2 separate regions of the Homo sapiens genome follow, and region 2 is linked to region 1. The links are contacts of gene promoters, found by promoter capture Hi-C in human tissues and cell types (Jung and others, 2019). All regions are on one chromosome and are shown on one strand. The core of a region is centred on a gene start or on the middle of the fragment in contact, and the rest is flanking DNA. Distances in the headings are between cores, read along the strand shown. Region 1 holds the start of MED23 (mediator complex subunit 23). Region 2 overlaps AKAP7 (A-kinase anchoring protein 7).

Region 1 (6,842 bases), core at 191-2,690:
TAGTCCCCCACTCTAAATCCTGATAGGACAAGGATGGAACAAGAAGCCTGAATTCTCAGCTTTCAGTTTGCTCAGACTCAAATTACCCCCCAGTTTATAGTATGCTGTTCACAGCAATCTAAGCAAACTCCCCTAGGTATCTTTCTAAATTCCTTTCTGTAGAAAAATTTGTATTTCCTCCTTTTCTCCCTGGCACTTTATTAGCATCACTAGTATTGCACATATCACACTCTATTATGGTTTAAAATGTCTATGTCTTCAACTAAGCTAAAGCTCTTTAGAGTAGATACATGGGCCCTAACCTGACTGATGTCCTTCTAGGAAGAGAAAATTACGACACAGACATGTACAAAGGGAAGACCATGTGAAGACACAAGGAGAAGAAGGTCATCTACAAGCCAAGGACAGAGGCCTCTATAGAAACTAACCCTATCAACCTCAACCTCAGACTTCCAGCCTCCAGAATTACAAGAAAAGAAATTTCTGTTGTTTAAGCCACCCAGTCTGTGGTATTTTGTTATGGCAACCCTAGCAAACAATACCCTAAGCCTAACTTTTCAAGTTTTTCTCCAGCAGGAAATCTGAATTATTTCTTTTCAGCTTTTAGTAGCTATTGTGTGGACAACATGGTTGCATGTGCATATTAAAGTTGTTAGAAAACTAAATTTATGCCAGGTCAGACACTTGTATAACAAAACCATGAATGGGGAGTCATCAGCTCATCACTTAGCAGCTACAAAGGAGTAGTTCATGCTTAGCAGTTTGTGGCATTTCACAACCGTCAAAGAAGTGAAAGGCCTTTGGATGTCTATGACTCTCATCAACAATTTTCTTTATGAGGCAAAGAAAGCTGATCATTCAAGACATAACAGATGTTTTAGGGGTTGGTGATGATGGTGGCATATGAAGAAAAACACATACTCTCAACAATATAATAGCAAATAGAATCTAGCAATATATTAAAAAGGATAATATATTATGACCAAGTAGCATTTATACCATAGAAGCAAAATTGGTTTGGCATTCAAAAGTCAATCAATTACATTTGCACTGAGGTTATCATAGCTGAGAAGACACCGTCTCTGTGGCTTCAGCTCCTGGCTGCAGGCCGCTGATGGAGGTCCAGAAGGTCAGCTGCTCACAGACATCAACTTGGTGTCGGCTGCGGCTCCAGCATTTTCCGCAGGCTGCAGCTTCTGGGTTCCAAACTTTTCATTTCTCAGTCTGCAAGCGGGTTAGCCCCGAACAGGAAGCAACTCCTTCTCCAGCCGGGAGGTGGCGGCCTGCGGTCGACGATGCCTCCGGGGTCCTTGGGCTCAAGGTTCCGTTTGGGGGCGCTCTCGTCCGGCTTGCGGGCCGCCCTTCTCCACAGACGGAACCTTCTGGTGGCGCCGCTGGTTTCTGCGGGGTTTGCAAACGGCGCGTACCGGGCCCTTCCCGTCTTCCGTACAGGTTCCTGCTGTTGGCTGGGCTCGGGAGGGAACGCTCCAGGTAAAGCGCTGGGGGAGGAAGCGACGCCGAGGAGCTACGGTTTCCTCCAGAGGTCTCCGCCCCTCTGCCCCTATATTCCCAGAGCTCGAGTCTGATCCGGGCCTTGCCGGGCACCCTGGAAAGGCGGGGGTGATAGTACAGATGGAGACGCAACTGCAGAGCATTTTCGAAGAGGTGGTGGTGAGTGCAGCTGCCGGCCATCCAGGACTACGGCTTGGGGACGGGGAGACGCGGGGGCAGCCGACCAAGGAAACTGGCCTGGGCAACCTCCTCTCACGCCTCCCTTTTTATTCCCTTGTTTTGACACCGAGGTTGTATGCGGGGAAGTTTAGTGATTCTCAAACTGCTGTCAAGTTCATTGTATCCTTTGAAATCGATACAGTGACAGGCCAGACAGGTATTGATAGTTTCAGAGCTGATTAAGGTGACTTGCCCTGTGTTACATTGTAATACTTGGCTAAGGGAGGCGCCTTTTTAAAATTAACATTGTTTACATTTTGTTTTTTTTTTTTTTACAGAAAACGGAAGTTATAGAAGAGGCTTTTCCTGGGTGAGTGTATGCGTGGCAGAGTTTTGTGTTTTTATGTGATTGTGTCTGTCAGATTTTACTTAGTTTCGTGTTGGAAGGTTATAAGATCCACTATTCTGATTGTGTGTAATTACCTTTTTAAAACGAATGACAAATAATGTAATTTTTATTTTTTTAGCATGTTTATGGATACTCCTGAAGATGAGAAAACAAAACTAATTAGCTGTTTGGGGGCCTTCAGACAGTTTTGGGGTGGTCTTTCTCAGGTGAGCGCTTCATTTTTAATACATTCAGCTGATGATTTTTGGCCTCTTCTTTTTTTTTTTTTTTTTCTTTTAACATTTACTTTCATGCTGCTCTTAAGATCTTCCTGAGAAGGGAGAAATAAAATTGTTATCATTTTTTATTCTGGCTTCCATTTGTTTTAATTTGTATATTTCAGTGGAAAACCTGTGTTGAGAAGTCAAGTTGATACTGCACAGTGTGAGATGTTTAAAAAAAAAAACCTCCCCTATGTTAGATTAATTGAGATCATTTTCATCCTATTCGGATTTATTTGGTACACTTGAAAACAGATATGTTAAGCTTTACTTGTCAAGGATACAAATTCCATTTTTCTGCTAAATAAAGGAATTGGCACAGCATTGATACAAAGATGCTACAATAGGAATACCAAGATTCTATAATAAGGATAGGAAAATATTATAGTAAAAATGAGGAGACAAACTGTAAAAGTAACAAAGAACAGCTACCAGAAAATGTATCCGTGAAAAAGACAAAAATGTGTCATCCTCGAAGAGCTCACATTGCAGTAGTGCCTTACCTTCTCATGGTACACTATAGGTAGGGAAATGAGAACTGTTTGCGTGTCAGCCACTGGTGATAAGATTTGCCACTCAGACATGGATCATATAATGCCAATACAGTCATGTTTTAACCTTTTTGTTTAGTTGTTTTCTAATAGGTAATACATTTATATGGTTCAAAATGCACAGGTATAAAAGGGTGGATCCAATAACTAGTCTCTTTCTCTTCTCTTACCTGTTATTTTTTCTGTCTGTAGCCAATATCCTCAGGTTATGTTTTCTTCTAGAAGTATTTTATGCATATAGAAACACTTTTATAGCATGATCATATACCATGTACACTGTTCATTAATTAGCACTTTTTTTCTCCTAATAATAATCTACAGGTAATTCCCTATCAGTCCAAGCGTTACTTGTTCCTTCCTTTCTTACTTTTTTTTTTAAATAGCAGCATAATATTCCATTGTATGGCTGTACCTTCCTCCTTTTAACCAATCTTCTACTGTCTTCTAAGTTTCTTCTTACTTTTTCTAATTTAACCAATGCTGTGATGAATAATATTATGCATGAAAAATAGGATAAATTCCTAGAAATAGTATTGCTGAGTCAAAAGCCTTATCAGTTTGTAATTTTTATAGAAATTATTAAATTTTCCATAAGGGTTATACTAGTTTATGCTTCCACCAGCAGTGTTTGAGATTATCTTTTTCTTTTCTTTTTTTTTTTTTTTTTTGGAGACAGAGTCTCACTCTGTCGCCCAGGCTAGAGTGCAGTGGCGTGATCTTGGCTCACTGCAACCTCTGCCTCTCGGGTTCACGCCGTTCTCCTGCCTCAGCCTCCCGAGTAGCTGGGACTACAGGCACCTGCTATCACGCCCGGCTCATTTTTTGTATTTTTAGTAGAGACGGGGTTTCATCGTGTTAGCCAGGTTGGTCTCGATCTCCCGACCTCATGATCTGCCCACCTCGGCCTCCCAAAGTGCTGGGATTACAGGCATGAGCCACCGCGCCCGGCTGAGAGTATCTTTTTCTTATAACCTCACAATAGAGTGTTAAGCTTTTTGATCTTTGCCAATCAAAAACATGAGAAATTTTATCTCAGTATAATTTTATTTTGCATTTCTCTCAGTGATGTTGAATATCTTTCCAAAATTTAAAAAAAAATTCATTAAACACTTTATGAATTATGATGTGGCCCTCTAATGGAGAGACCAGGAAGAAAATAGGTATTTCCAAATCATTGTTATATGTGCCACAATAGAAGTATGTATGAGAACAGTGGTTGTGGAGAGAAGCAGAACATTATAGGCTCTTTTTGGAGATAATCCTAGAAGACAAACTTTGATACGGGCACAACATTTTGACATCGTATTTAAAGTTTTGCCAGTCTAGAAATGTGACATGTCATTGGATTCATAATGGGCTCTTGTTTGGGATCTTAGGGATTGGATTCACACCTAATTCTCCTAAGCCTGATACATACTGATCCATAATGAATTTTACCCCCAGTGACAGTAATATTTATATATGCCATAAAGGGCACTGTTTACAATGCCTTACAACAATCTGTGTTAAGAGTTTTCTATTGACCGTTAATATGTTAACTAATTAATTACTACTTTTGAAGTTCCCATGTAATAAAAATGGTAGCATTTTATCTATGTAATTACAAAATGTTAAGCTTAATGTGACAAATACTAAATCTGAATTTTTTAATTTTGCTTTTTTTAAAAATTATTTTCATCCACAGATGCTCATAGTGAAGTATTTCTTTCATAGTATTGGTATACTTCCAGTTGTAGTATTAGCTATTGGTTATAAAAATGTAACTTTAGACCCCAAGTAAAATCATTCTCTCATTTTCCAGGAGTCTCATGAACAGTGTATCCAGTGGATTGTTAAGTTTATTCATGGTCAGCATAGTCCTAAAAGAATTTCTTTTCTTTATGACTGCTTAGCAATGGCAGTTGAGACTGGTCTCCTTCCACCCAGGTACGTTTAATGGGTATGAGCAATCTGAAGAATTTTCTTTTCTATATGTGATTGGAAATTGGTTGAGGTTGTTGTTGTAAAAAGGTAAGAGAATGAAGAAGAAGGTGAGGTTTATCAAGTAATCCTTTATATAATACCTCAGGTTTTAGTTTCTAGGAGTAATAGTCTTTGAATTAGGTAATGCTTGTGGGCTCAAAACCAGATGTTTCTGCCCAGGGGCTGAAATTAATCACTTTAATTAGTTTGTAACCCTTTACTTTTGCTGCACAACCTCAACACCTTATGGCTTAAAACAGTAATACTCAGGTTTTAAAATTATTCATGGTTTTAGTGGTTGACTCGGCTTAGGAGACACTTTTTACTCAAGGTCATAATGATTGTGATCAATGTGGCTAGGGCTGGAGCATGGCAAAAGCTTCCCCACTCAGATATCTGGTGGTTGATTCCTGGCTGTCATCTGGAACCTCAGCTGGGATTATTAGCCAGAACCTCCGCAGGCCCTCACCTTGTGGCCTAGACTTTCTCACCTCATGGTGGAGCCTAACAGCAAGTGTGCAAAAGAGGGCTAGGCAGAAATTGTATCACCTTGTCTTCTTGGAAGTCATACTGCATCCTTTTGGCCATAGTCTTAGGTCTGCCCAGATCTAAGGAGTGAGAACGTAGACTTTCCCCCTACCTCTCCTTGGGAGAAATGTCAGTGTCACATTTCAGAAGAAGATGTGGGATCAAAAATCTTGTTGCCATCCTGTTGGAAAAATCCAGTGTACCACAAGGTGATAGATGGTAAACATCTAACCGAAAGCTTTAGATAGACTTCTTTCTAGTAAAATATAACATAATGAATATTATTTCATTCTTACTTTGTTTTTGATCTTTCATACAAGTAAAAAATGTAAAATACTACACAGATTTATAAGTGTGCTTAGTAATCACTTTTATGAAAGACACTTGTGAGGATAAATATAATACAGTGCACAGACTATGGCTGTATTAGTCTGTCTGATGCTGCTAACAAAGATATACCCGAGACTGGGTAACTTATAAAGGAAAGAGGTTTAATTGACTCACAGTTTGGCATGGCTAGGGAGGCCTCAGGAAACTTAGAATAATGGCAAAAGGCACCTCATCACAGGGTGGTGGGAGAGAGAATGAGTGCCCAGTGAAGGGGGAATCCCCATATAAAACCATTAGATCTTGTGAGAACTAACTCACTATCATGAGAACAGTATTGGGGGAACTGTCCCTCATGATTTAAATGGTTTTTCTCATGACACGTGGGGATTATGGGAACTACAATTCAAGATGAGATTTGTGTGAGTACACAGCCAAACCATATTGGCGGCTATTAGAGAACTTGGAAAATTCTGTCTTGTAACTGGAATGGCTATTTCTTTTTTTATAGGCTGGTTTGTGAATCCCTGATAAACTCTGACACTCTTGAGTGGGAAAGAACACAGCTTTGGGCCTTAACATTTAAACTGGTTCGGAAAATAATTGGGGGAGTGGATTACAAGGTATATTTTTCTTATTATAAAAAGTGATTGCTTTCAGATATGATTGATTTTTCGGTGTGCATGTCTTATTTTCAGGTGAGAGAAATGATGTGGAAGCATTTACAAAATCTGTCTATTTCTTGTGGTATATTTCCTGAAAAGATTTAAAGTTACTCAGTTGTTTCCCTGGCTCCGCTACTCCCCTCCCAACATTCTTATAAATACAGGTAGCTGATACATTTTTATGAAGAGCAGGGAAGTCACAAAGCAGAATCCGTGTTCCTTCATGCTGCAAGTATTATGATCCCTTCAAATGAAAGCACAGAGCAGGGGTGTGTGGAACTGAGAAGGGATGTAGGCATCACTGATGAAGGGAGCAAGACCTGGCTTCACTTCTCTTGAACGTGGGTCTTACCTCAATTAATATCTTCAGCACTTTGGGCTCTTGACCAAAAACAACATACACTTTCTAGTTTTGTCTCATAAAACGGCTTAGGGACTCCATAGCTACAAAAGCCATTCTGCATCTTCA
Region 2 (6,512 bases), core at 1,610-4,109, 440 kb after region 1:
ACAGTCATGAGCCACCGCGCCCAGCCAACACTTTTCAATTTATTGATTTCAGTTACCTCAGATTTTGACCCAACAGCTCTCATTATTCACTAGGTCTGAAGTATTTTATGATATTTATTCACAATACTGTTTTAAATAATATTTGTCACAAAGAACTTTTGATTTTTATTAATGTGCTTTTTCAATATAGTCCATAGGTACATAGAAGTGGGGAAAAAGAAAATGCCTTCTTTTTGAAAAGTACTTCTTAATACTGATTTTATATTCCTAACAGTAGTATAATCTATTGCTTAGGGTATTAGGTAATGGTTCGAGCAATGTCATATTTGGGATGAGAAAAGTTTTTACTAATATGAAACCTACATGTCATTTTTCATCTGTGTTAACAACTTACACAGAAGTTGGAAGTCCTGGAAGAGAAGCTTATGAATAATTGAGATTGCTTAATTCCTCCCAGTACCACAGGCATTCCTTCAAGCACTAAACCAAAAATCACAAAACACATACATCAGATATCCTTCAAAAAGTCAGGTAAGGGTGCCTCCTAAATAATATAACTTATAACTGAAGATGAAAATTGTCTGAAGAACAACTACTTAAAAATATATTTACATACAAGGACACTTTGCTATATAAAAGAATACTGAAATAAACAATTTAATAGAGAAACAACACATTTGTAACCCTAACAAATACAGCTTTATCTGTTTTTTAGGCTTTACATATTTTTTTCTATAGGAGATTTTCTTTAGGTGAACTCTTTAAAATATGTAGCAGCAATAAATTTACATAATAATCTTAAAATGCAAAGAAGTTGTTAAAAGTTGTCTCAAAGTAAACTGTAACAGATCAATTTTAACAAAGTCATGTTTCTACTTATATACCCTTTTTGCAAGATAAATATTTACCCCTTCTTTCCAAGCTTTTGCTATTTTCTCCCTTTCTCTAATATTGTTAAAGATGTTTATACGATCACATGATCTCCAATTTGAGAATAATCAAAAAGAGGTTTATTAATAAGAATAGTCTAGAATGCTAAAAGGAATTAAGTTCATTATATTACTAAACTTATACAGATAATCCTCAAACTACAAAGGTTCAATTTATGATTGTTTGATTTTACAATTGTGCAAAAGCAACATGTGTTCAGTAGAAACTGTACTTGTAAATTTTGAATTTTGGTCTTTTCCCAGATAGCAATATGCAGTATGATATTCTCTCTCAATGCCAGAAAGCAGCAGCGAGCTGCTCCCAGCCAGTCACAGGATCACAAGGGTAACAACAAACACTCTATAGTGTGTTGTGTTGCCAGATGATTTTTTTGCCCAGCTATAGGTTAATGTTAAGTGTTGTGGGCACATTCAAGGTAGGCTAGACTAAGCTATATTTTCAGGTAGGTTAAATGTATTCAATTCATTTTCAAGTTACAATAGGTTTATTAAGATGTAACTGCACCATAAGTCAAGTATCTCTATATATTATTTCAGTATGTGGATGTCACAAAAATGGCAAGTTCAATTTTTGATTTGGGGCTAGGCGAGGTGGCTCATGCCTATAATCCCAGTACTCTGGGAGGCCAAGGAGGGAGAATTGCCTGAGCCCAGGAATTTGAGACCAGCCTGGGCAACATGGTGAAACCCTGTCTCTACAAAAAAAAAAAAAAAAGAAGTACAAAAATCAGCCAGGTGTGATGGCCTATGCCTGTAGTCCCAGCTACTCAGGAGGATGAAATGGGAAGCTCACCTAAGCCCAGGGAGGTCAAGGCTGCAGTGAGCTGTGATGACACCACTGTACTCTAGCCTGGGTGACAGAGTGATACACGGTCTTAAAAAACAAAACAACAACAACAACAAAACTAATGTGTAATTAAACAATAGCAAGCATGAGTATTTTCCATGTCTTCCAATTGCAAGATACTTTCTACTACTATTGTAAGTTATGCTAAAATTGTGTCACATATAATACGAAAAATCTCAATAAAATTTTAAAATCACTTTTCGTCACCTGAAACTTTAAAGAAATAAAAGCCATAAAGCTGTTTTTGTTGTTCCTATAATATTACTATTAACATTTAAAGCATTCCTGTATCCACATACTGCTTAAACAGTTCCATTTTAGACAGTCTTAGCAAGTCACTTGAACTATGTTTCAATATAAAGGCTGACATAATGCTGAAACCAACTTCAATTTAAAAATTTTATAGTCCTCATCTTAAATAGATATTTCCAGTTGATTACTGTGTAAAACTGACAAGTAGAATTTTTAAGTGTCATTCTTAAAAGCACATCTTTAAAATACATCTTGATGCCAGAGGAATTCTACTCATTCTACCACAGTTGATAAAGAGAACCAGACTGAGCCTTCTAACTCCAACCCAGTTCTCCCATTATTTAGTTTGTGCTCCTAGACACATCACTTAACACTGATAGTAAAAGTGATGAGACCATAATAAATTGTCTCTCAGGTCCCTTCTTATCCTAACAACCAGCAAATCCAAGTGAACTGCCAGAGAGAGTTCTGGTACATCACCCTTAGGGGATTCTAGAACACCAGGACTGGGTTTAATTTTCATGCAAAGATTTAGACACAAATGTAAATGAGGGAAGAGAGACTACCTAAAGTTAAATGTTCTTTCAAGTAAACTTTTATGTGTACATCACACTTTTTTTTCATTGCTTTATGTATTAAAATATATTTATTGAATCTCTACTATGTGGCAGGAATTGAGGACACAAAGACGGAAGATTCCCTCAAAGACCTTTCAATTCTGGTTGGGAAAGTTAGATTTCTAAACAATTACACTAACTTGTTATAGTTTCTACAGTAGAGATATAGGGGATAAGAGGATAAAATGATCATTTCTACTTTGGAGAAAAAAGGCCTTTATTTTTAAAGTGACACTTGAAATAAGTCTCTATGAAAGGTCAGTGATACAATGTGAAAGGAAATTAAGAAAACAATTGCATCAACATTATAAATAAAATTATAAAATAATTAGGAATACAAAAATTTTAAAATACTTAGGAATAAACTTAACCAAGGAGGTGAAAGATGCATATTCTGAAAACTATGAAACATTGCTAAAAGAAATTAAAGAAAATACAAATAAATGAAAAGACATCCTGCCTGTTTTAATGAACCGAAGGACAACATATTGTTAAAATGCCAATACTGCTCAAAGCAATCTAATGATTTAATGTAACCCTATCAAAATCCCAATGGTATTTTCTGCAGAAATTTAAAAAAAATCCATCCTAAAATTCATATTGAACCTCAAGGATCTCTGAATAGCAAAACAATCTTGATAAAGAAGATCAAAGTTAGAGATTTTACACTTCTGATTTCAAAAGTTACTACAAATCTACAGTAATCAAGACGGTGTAATATATGCATAAAGACAAATATATAGGCTAATGAAATAGAATAGAAAGCTCAAAAATAAACCCTCACATATATGGTTGCTATGGTCTGAATGTTTGTGTCCCTCCAAAATTCTTACGTTGAGACCTAATCCCCAAGGTAAAGGTATTAAGAGGTGGGGCCTTTGGGAGCTGATTAGGTCACAAGAGGTCTGCCTTCATTAATGGGATTACTGTCCTTAAAAGAGATTTTGGGGTCCTAAATCACTTTTGTCTTTTGTCTTTGTCCCTTTTGCCCCTCCACCATGTGAGGATACAGTGTTCTCCCCTTCCACTAGGTGAGGATGCAGTAGCAAGGTGTCATCTGTGAAGCAGAGAGCCCTCTCCAAACACTAAATCTTCTGGTGACCTGATCTTGAACTTCCCATTTCCAAAACTGTGATGAATAAATTTCTGTTGTTTATAAATTACCCAGTCCAGGAATTTTGTTATAACAGCAGGAAGGTCAAATGGTTTCAACAACTGTGCCAAGATCATTCAATGAGAAAAGACAGTTGTATTACGCCATTTCTGCATTGCTATTTAAAAAAAAAATACCTGAGACTGGATAACTTATAAGAAAAGAGACTTTAATTGGCTCACAGTTCTGCAGGCTGTACAGGAAGCATAATGCCAGCATCTCCTTCTGGGGAGGCCTCAGGAAGCTTACAATCCATGGCAGAAGGCACAGGGGAGCGGGCATCTCACAGGGTGGGAGCAGGAATAAGAGAGAGAGGGGAAGGTCCCACACACTTTTAAATGACCAGATCTCACAAGAACTCACTCACTAGCATGAGGATGGTACCAAGAGGATGATGATCCAATCACCTCCCACAAGGCCCCACCTCCAACACTGGGGATTACATTTCAACATACAATTTGAGAAGGGATAACATACAAACTACATCAGCAGTCTTTCAACAAATGGTGCTAGGAAAACTGGATATCCACATGCAAAAGAATGAAGTTAGTCCCTTACACCTTACACCATATACAAAAATTAACTCGAAATGGATCAAAGATCTAAACATAAGAGTTAAAATTATAAGACTCTTAAGAAAAAACATAGAGGGAAAGGTTCAAGACATTAGATTTGGCAATGATTTCTTGAGTGTGACACCAAAGCACAGGCAACAAAAGTAAAAACAGATAAATTGGACTACATAAAAATTTAAAACTTTTGTGCATCATAGGATATAATAGAATGAAAAGGCCACCTATGGAGTGGGAGAAATATTTGCAAATCGTATATCTGATAAGAGATTAACATTCAGAATTTAAAGAACTCCTTCAAATCAACAACAAAAGACAACTTGGTTTAAAAATGGGCAAAAGGCTTGAATAGGATTTCTCCGTAGAAGAAACACAAACGGCAAAAAGCACAGGAAAAGATGTTCAACATCACTAATCATCAAGGAATTGCAAATCAAAACCACAAATGAAATACCACCTCATACCCATTAGAATGGCCATTACTGGAGGGAGAGAAGCAAGGAAAATGGCACCTGTGGTGGTGAATGCAATGAAGTTCCTTGGGAGCAGTACTACAAAGATGCCATGGAGCAGGGCCACAATTACAATGCCCACCTCTGTGCTGAGCACAGCATGTGCCTGCCTTTCTTGGCCTCACAGACTGGAGTAGCCCAGAACAATTATTACAGCTGGATGAAGAAGTAACCAGGTTCTAGGATTGGCCTCTGGACAACTACTCGTACCCTGCCCAGCACTGGCGGAAAAAGCGGTGAGCCCACCCCTGTGAAGATCCACAATTTTTCTTCCCACCTATTAAGCCAGACACAGACCCCACCCTGAAGAAGGAGGGGCTGATCTCTCAGGACAGCAGCAGTTTAGAGGTTCTGTTGCACACTGACCCCCTGGGGAAGCGAGGTACCCCAGATCCCCGAGTTGATGATGACAGCCTGGGCAAGTTTCCTGTGACAAACAGTCAAGCACGAAAGCGGATCCTAGAACCAGATGACTTCCTGGATGACCTCGATGATGAGTACTGTGAAGATGCTCCCAAGCATCGGGGAAAGGGGTAATCCAAGGGTAAAGGTGTGGCAGTGCCCATAAGGAGCTGGATGCTTCCAACCTGGAGGACCAGGATAAGCCCTATGCCTGTGACATTTGTGGAAAACGTTACAAGAACCGACCAGGCCTCAGTTACCACTATGCCCACTCTCACTTGGCTGAGGAGGGCGAGGACAAAGAAGACTCCCAACCACCCACTCCTGTTTCCCAGAGGTCTGAGGAACAGAAATCCAAAAAGGGTCCTGATGGATTTGCCTTGCCCAACAACTACTGTAACTTCTGCCTGGGGAACTCAAAGATTAACAAGAAGATGGGACAACCTGAGGAGGTGGTGTCCTGTTTCGACTGTGGCTGCTCAGGGCATCCATCTTGCCTCCATTTCACCCCCATGATGATGGGGCAGTGAAGACATACTGCTGGCAATGCATCGAGCACAAATGTTGCGATATCTGCGGCACCTCTGAAGATGATGACCAGCTGGGCTTTTGTGATGCTGCGATCATGGCTACGAAATGTACTGTCTCACTCCGTCCATATCTGAGCCCCCTGAAGGAAGTTGGAGGTGCCACCTGTGTCTGGACCTGTTGAAGGAGAAAGCTTCCATCTACCAGAACAAGAACTCCTCTTGATATAGCCACCCCCCTGCTCCCCGACATATCTAAGGCTGTTTCTCTCCTCCACTTCATTTTTCATACCCACCTTTCCCTTCCTCCTCCTCTCCTTCACAAGTCCAGAGAACCTTGGGGTGGTTGTTCTAGCCTGCCTTTGGCAGCCACAAGCTGATGTGGCAGCTCTGGCCACCTCTGGCCCTAGGCCCTCAAGGAGAAAGGAGCAACACACTGCCCCAAGGCATACCTGTGGGCCCAGTTTCTCTCTGCTCTCCATGAAATGCATTCATTCTGCTTGCCTTGGGCCCAGGCCCTGGTCATCACAGGGTTCAAACAGTGTCCTCCTAGAAAGAGTGGGAGAGCAGCTCACTTCTCTCTCTGTTCTGCCTCCACTCTGGTCTCCAGAGTTTTCCCATCCCCCAGAGGCGAGCCAGGCCAGAGCCTCTGCCCAAGGCAGCTGGTAGCGAGCAGCTGA

What was found. Contacts are between HindIII fragments. The study calls those that stand out against the background at their distance.
Region 2: a fragment that was not itself captured here is called in contact with the fragment with the promoter of MED23 in region 1 in 1 of the 25 tissues and cell types used here (spleen).

What each region holds. Positions count from the first base shown.
Region 1 is chr6:131,622,840-131,629,681 of GRCh38, reverse strand. MED23 (mediator complex subunit 23) reads left to right here and starts at 1,440. Exons shown (of 29, transcript NM_004830.4): 1 at 1,440-1,671; 2 at 2,010-2,041; 3 at 2,199-2,286; 4 at 4,693-4,817; 5 at 6,220-6,331. The coding sequence starts at 1,633. RefSeq lists enhancers at 1,451-1,620, 1,751-1,800. The HindIII fragment of the contact is 9,048 bases long and covers 1-3,244 here.
Region 2 is chr6:131,183,871-131,190,382 of GRCh38, reverse strand. All of the region lies in intron 5 of AKAP7 (A-kinase anchoring protein 7), which reads right to left. It also overlaps the pseudogene LOC100421246. Among named protein-coding and RNA genes, the nearest start is that of AKAP7, 52 kb to the right of the region's middle. The HindIII fragment of the contact is 4,373 bases long and covers 673-5,045 here.